Regions from separate parts of the Homo sapiens genome. Here region 1 is linked to region 2. The links are contacts of gene promoters, found by promoter capture Hi-C in human tissues and cell types (Jung and others, 2019). All regions are on one chromosome and are shown on one strand. The core of a region is centred on a gene start or on the middle of the fragment in contact, and the rest is flanking DNA. Distances in the headings are between cores, read along the strand shown.

What was found. Contacts are between HindIII fragments. The study calls those that stand out against the background at their distance.
Region 1: a fragment that was not itself captured here is called in contact with the fragment with the promoter of TBATA in region 2 in 2 of the 25 tissues and cell types used here (IMR-90 fibroblasts and dorsolateral prefrontal cortex).

Annotation. Positions count from the first base shown.
Region 1 is chr10:70,571,129-70,574,646 of GRCh38, forward strand. No RefSeq gene overlaps it. Among named protein-coding and RNA genes, the nearest start is that of PRF1, 30 kb to the right of the region's middle. The HindIII fragment of the contact is 5,511 bases long and covers 1-3,518 here.
Region 2 is chr10:70,783,855-70,787,031 of GRCh38, forward strand. It overlaps TBATA (thymus, brain and testes associated), which reads right to left and starts at 1,523. Exons shown (of 11, transcript NM_001318241.2): 1 at 1,431-1,523; 2 at 793-919. The HindIII fragment of the contact is 18,774 bases long and covers 1-3,177 here.

The DNA.
Region 1 (3,518 bases), core at 286-2,785, 210 kb before region 2:
TTTCTTAAATACCAGTACATATTGCTGAATTATAATATTAAAAAACGAGTTAATATACATGCAACCTTTAGGACAGTGCCTGACAGTGCCTGTGAGTATACAATCAGTTTTAGCTGACTTTGCCCAGTCTCTCTCTCCAAGCCCTGTGGGTGCTCAGAAGGAGTCCCCCATTGATCTACATGTGTGGTCACTGTCATGTGGCATCCTCATTGCTTCCAGGACTTCAGACATCCCTGACCCTACCCCCACCCCCATTTCAGGTGCCCAGGCTGTGCCGTGTCAGGCGGGACTTGACCTTGGGTCTGTGCCTACTTTTAACCAAGGATTTGGCCAGGTCCCTGGTTAAGCCTCCACCCTGTCTTCCCTGCTGCCCTGGTGGAGACCCGGTACCCCAGGCTAGCAGCCTTGATATGCCTGGCTCCCACTCCCTTAAGACATGTTCTCTCCTGGAAGCCCCTCAATCTTCTGGGGGTCCTGTCACACCAGTTTGCCCAGACTAGGCGGGCCTTAGCTGGGTCCACCTGGGACGTGCACCCCTTAGTGTCGTGATGACTGCCCTTAGTGTTCTGTGTATAAGGGGACATGTGCAAGGGGGAGGTCTGTGCATGTCAGCTGTGGGCAGTGATGCAGCAGATCACTGCAAAATTGGGCATCTACACAGACCAGGCACCATGCCAGGCACCAGGGAGCTGTGGACGGGGACAGCCTGCCTTCCAGGAGCTGGTGGCACTGCAAGGACAAGAGAGAATGAACAAATCATTTTCGCCAGGTGTCGTGAGAGCTAGGGTGGGGCAGGGTTTGGAGAACAGTGGCGGTGTGATAGGCCAGAACCAGCCAGGACGCCACTTGCCTCTCTTCTGGAGCTTCTAGAACAAGGAACCAGTGATGTTGTGGACCCAGGGGGAGCCAGGGGGCCTGTGGTGTCGGGTGGGACCACCGCACCCCGGAAACCATATAGCACTGATGGTCTGAGCTCTTCTTAATCTCTGCACCCTCTCTCCCATCCTTTAGCCAGACTTGAGATCTGGCCAGACCCTGAGAAGGGCCCATCCACAAAGGGCCTTTGGTTTCTCTACTTGTCACAAGAACTGGTTTTGGATGAACAGAAAGAATGAAGCCGCCCACCGGCCATCGCCTGCCTGGTCCTTTCTTGTGGTGTTCAGTGCGGAAACCTCAAATTGTATCTGCAGAATTGGCACGCATGTATTGTAACTGGTTTTCTCTTACAAAAAGCTGTTCGTCTTTTATTCACACAAGTACAGTGTAACCATCCACTAGTTGTGAAAATTCAACCAGTATCTTTATCTCCCTCCCTGTTCTCATTCCTACTCCCTGGGCTCTGGTTTTAAAAGGTATCACTGAGACCCGTGCAGCCCCGTGGGTGGTTGGGCCTTTCTCCTCTCTGTGCTGTCCCTGGCTGTGTGACATCCCCGCCTGCTTCTCTGGCCACCTAGTACTGTGTGCTACACACACCCCTTTCTGCTCAGCCAGCAAGCGTGGTTTCAGCATCCATCCATACAGTGAAGCAGTTCAAAAGAGCTTGGGTAAATCACACTGCCTCTCTGAGACACAATGTCCTCAATTGTAAGTGGGATTAAAATGCTTATTTTGGGCCGGACGTGGTGGCTCACGCCTGTAATCCCAGCACTTTGGGAGGCCGAGGTGAGTGAATCACCTGAGGTCAAGAGTTCGAGACCAGCCTGGATAACATGGTGAAACCCCATCTCTACTAAAACTACAAAAATTAACTGGGCATGGTGGTGGGTGCCTGTAATCCTTGCTACTCGGGAGATTGAGGCAGGAGAATCACTTGAACCTGGGAGGCGGAGGTTGCAGCTAGCCGAGATCACGCCACTGCACTCCAGCCTGTGAGACAGAGTGAGATGCCATCTCAAAAAAAAAAAAAAAAAAAAGAAAAAGAAAAAAGTGCTTATTTTGTAGGGTAAGTGGAAGGATCAGAGTTAATGGCCATGAAGTTCCTATTGCTGGGCCTTACACACAGCAGGTACTCACTGCAAGAATTGTCTTGTTCTGTAGAGTATGTTATTAGGAGCCCTGGAGCAGAAGAGTCCATCTGAGGAGTATCTGAGTTAGTGGTATGGAAGTGACATTACTCATGAGTGATGGCAGGGGGTCAGGGGCAGAGGGCACCACTGGCTCTCGGAATGCAGCACCTCAGCTTGGGTGTCCTCTGGCACTAGAGGAGCCAGTAAGAGGCATGAAGGCATTTCTTAGTATTTCTTGGGGGAAGCCATGCAGAATTCTCTAAAGATGAGAGCAGAGGTGGGGTTGGTGGGCCAGGGAGAGTCGTTGGGAAGGACTAACTTGGTTTCCCAGAGGAAGCCAACAGCGGGAGAACCCTTGGCACATCGGCCCTGGGAGAGTGTAGCAGGAATTTCCATAAATGTGTTCGGTTGGGTTAGGGCAGACAGCCTGGCTTCCAGAAAACCTGCCTGCTTTGCATTGCCCAGTACAGCAGGTTTGGGACAGGAAGCTCCAGAGTGACTTTAATTCTAGAGCCTGCTGGGGACCTTGGCCAGTCACTGCCTTCTCTGGGTGGCGTCCCTTCCTTGGCAATAGCAGACTGATCCTTCCCCCTCTTGCCTCTACGTAGCCTGAGGGAAAAGGAGAAAAAGCACTTCTCCCTCTCCACCTTGGCCTAAAGGAGGGCAGGGCAGATGCCAGGGTCTGTTGCGCACTGACTGCGTGCTGAGGCCTGCACTAAGTTCTTTACACACAACATTGAAAATGGGCTAATTCCATCAGGTCTACCTGCCCTGCTTGCTTTGGGTTGCTTTTTTAATTCTCCCCCTCCCAAGCTTTTTCTATGAAGCTGAAGGCTGTGGTAGCTGAAGGCCTCACCGCTGAACACTGGAACTTAACCTTCACTGGCTACTTTATAGATAACATTCATAGGTCACCATGGTAATATTCACTTCAGTGTTTTTCAGGAACTTGGCCAGCGCCTGTCTAGTTCAAACTAGCTGAGACCCCGATCCTTCACCCTAGACTGCCCAAGTGCCCAAGGGGTGGCCTTTTGAAGTCAGAGGGCCGACGACAACACCCTCAGATCATGCAAATGCCACCATTTTTGTTGCATGTGCCCTGTGAAGTGCCGTGAAGCCTGACTACCCTTGCTCAGGAGGAACCTGTCACTTCATTTTTTTCCCACTGCCAATCACCTGTCCCCATGATTTAGATCATCCCACTTCCCTTACCTGTAAATATCCTTAAGCCTTATCCTCAAGGGTCGGGTGGGGGTGGTTTTGAGAGCTGTTCTCCCACCTCCTCATGTATTGCCCTTGCAAATCTTTCTCTTTTGCAAAACCCATGTCATCATGATTTATTCACTGTGCAGAGGCAGAATGAACCTGGACCTAGCCAATCTTACTTAACAATTTTTGTATTTTCAGTAGAGGTGGGTTTTCACCATGTTGGCCAGGCTGGTCTTGAACTCCTGACCTCAAATAATCCATCCAGCTCAGCCTCCCAAAGTGCTGGGATTACAGGCGTATGCC
Region 2 (3,177 bases), core at 273-2,772:
TGTTATATTTATGCAATCTTATTAACTCAATTTACTTTTTATTAATTACTATTAAATAGGCTGCAGTAGAACAAGATATATGCATTTGAAACAATACAATTGTTGTCATCCACTATATATAATGTGTGGATAATATAAAATAACTACTAAACAGTATAAATGTTGTTTAAAAACATATTATTTTTCTTTCATAAATGGTTTAGTTTATGTGTGTTCCAGAGGACCACAAGTTCCAGAGGACCACATAGCCTGAGATCCTTTCTAAAAATAAAAGTTTAAAAGCAAGCAAAATGATCATGAACATGCGATAAAACAGCAACAACAGCATCAAACAAGGAAATGCTAAGCACGAAATTCACATAGTGGCTATTTCCGAGGGAAGGCGGGGAGGGGAAGTGTGCAGGAGAAGCGCATATAAGGAGATGTGTTAGTGATGATGTTCTTGTTCTTGGTTTGGGTGGTGTATTTGCTTGTGTTTATTATATTATTAAATAAACTAATTAAATGGCATAGATGAAAGATGATAGGTGTCAAAACCAAGAATTATGATTAAATCTATGGACCTGAATATATATATCTAGCCAAAGTGCTAGGGATGGGGTTGGGACAGGACATCAGTGCATTCTGAGAATTAACCCTCAGAGTCACAGAATCTGCAAGGGACCCCAGAGATCTCCCAATGCCAGCCTTCATCAGGTAGTGGGATGGGTTGGAGTTGTCTGAGATCAGGGAAGCAGGGGAGATTTGCTGAGGTCACACAGAAGGAACCAGAGCCCGGGCAGTCTGACTCACAGTTTGCTGATCTTTTCTTTCCTTAAAAGGAAGCTCCAGACATCCTTGATGTCAGGTACTGGGCTCTAGAGTACTGAGATGCTACAATCTTGAGAACAGGATATGTGGAAGCCCCAAATCCTCCTGCCTATGGGAAAAAGTACTCTTTAGAACAGAGACTTGCAAATGTGTTTGGCTGTGATGACGGTAAGAAATTCTTTATGTCATGATCCAATTCACATATGGGTTTGTGTGTGTGTGTGAAACTAAAACAATAATATCCTGAAGCAATATTTATCCGTACTACATATGATGCACACTGATATTTTTACCCTATTTTTGGTTTTTATTTCTTAAATGTTAGATATGATCCATTTAAATTGATCTAATAAGCCACCAGGGGGTCATAACCCACAGCGGCTGTAGAGAGGCTGACAGGGACTCTAGTAGGCCAAGCCTGCCTTGTCCAGAGCGGGACAGGTGGGACCCCAGTGTAGTCTGCCCTGCCCTGCCCCTGCTCTCTGTCCCTGGGGCCCCAGCCAGCCAGGCAGAGGGGTCTGAGGGCTCCCATCAATCCAGCCACAAAACTTCCCTTTCTACCTCTGCCCTTCTGGGCTGTCCAGGGTCCATCTCCTCTCCCGAGAGGTCCCTGGACTCACCAAGGCAGTGCCCGCTACAGCATGTGTACGAGAAGCCCTGCTGTCCTAGCAGGAAGGAGCAAGAGGACAAATCGAGGGGAAGGCTGTGGGTTCTGTGGGCAAGTCTGCCTGCTTTGTGACACTGAGCCCAGTGGTTGCTAGGTTACCCTGTTCCCACAACTCCAGAACCTCTGCCCAGCACCCCTCTACCACATCCCCTGCCTATCTCCCCCTCCTGGAAGGGTAGACAAGGGCTAAGGACCTTCTGTCCCTCCTGACTTCCCTGCTGCCTCCCATCCAACACTTTCAATGGGGGCCAAGGGAGAGAAGGAGAGTCTGGGGCTGGTTTTAGCCAGAGAGAAGCGGATGGAGGCGGAACGCTGGCAGAGGACGTTGGTGGGCTGCGTCCCAGCTTCGTCAGCCCCACCTGGCCTGACCCCACCACACAGGGGTCGGCTTCCATGCATCTTGGTTCTGGGGACCCATTCTCAGGGAGGTGGGTCTTGGAAGGAGAGAAGATGGCAGCCCGCATTACCCAGAGGGACCCCAGCCCCTCTCTCTGCATGACAGCTGGGTGGGAAGATTCTGGGCTTGCATTTGGACAGGTGTTTTAATCAGATTTCAACATCCCATAGACACGTTACCTTGGGTAAGTCACCGGGACTGCCACAGATGCAAAATAGTGGGAAGAATCCTTGCTTCGAGTCCCTATTCTGCTACTTCCTAGTTGTGTGGCCTCAGACAATGCACCTGCCTTCTCTGAGCCTTAGTTCCCATATCTCTAAAATGGAGATGATGATACTGCACTTATTCTCACAGGATGTTTGAGAATATTAAGTGAGTTGATATATATTAAAGCGTTTCAAACAGTATCTGCCCCCAAGTATAATTTCTTACTATTATTGCCTTCTCTGGGTCTATAAAATGGGATATCCTCACCTACTTCTGTGGTTGTTCTGAAGACAAGCTAATGGAAGTGAAGCCTTTAGTTGTATGTCTGGCACACAAGAGATGCTCAAAAAGGATAATAATCATCATTATTATTGGTAACTTGATGGAGGTAGTAGGATGAGTCCTTTGTCTGAGAACTATCTTAGGTAGTTCACTATTTCTCTGAGGCTCAACTTGGACACCTGTCAAATGGGGGTAAGGATAGTTCTTAGCCGACAGGGCTGTAACTCAATCAGATCCCGGGAGGGGTGCAGACAGGCTCTGTAAACTATGGGAAGGCTTGCAGACAGTGCCGGGTGCTGTCCCTCAGAATGATGAGGTGGGCTTTTCCCAGGGCCTTTGCTCTCAGCACCCCTGGCTTCATACTGGTGCCCTGGGGCTTCCAGACTCTGTGTCTTTTCTCTGGGGAGCAAGAAAAGGAAGGTGGGTAGCTAGAGGCAAACCCAAGTCCTTCAAAAGTTCTGCCCCTCCCAGCTAAGGGGTGGGGATTCATACCACTCTGGTGGCCCCCTGAGGGCTGTCCTCTGGTCTTGGCCTACTCCAAATGCCCACCCATCCTTCGGCAGGTCAGGATGTTCCCTGGCTTTTTCTGGGCCTGTCTCTGCAGGAATACGGTGACTCTTTTGAAATCATACTGAAAACCCCCTCTTCCATACTTCTGGGCATCCTGGCAGCTGTGAAGATAGATGATATAGCATTTGGGAGAAGAGAGGCTTTCTTCCCCGTGACAAGCCACTCCTCCCTCCTGCTTTCAGCACTCTTGTGGCATTTCCCACCACGCGAGCTGACTCAGCTGAGATGAAAACCCACTCTCATC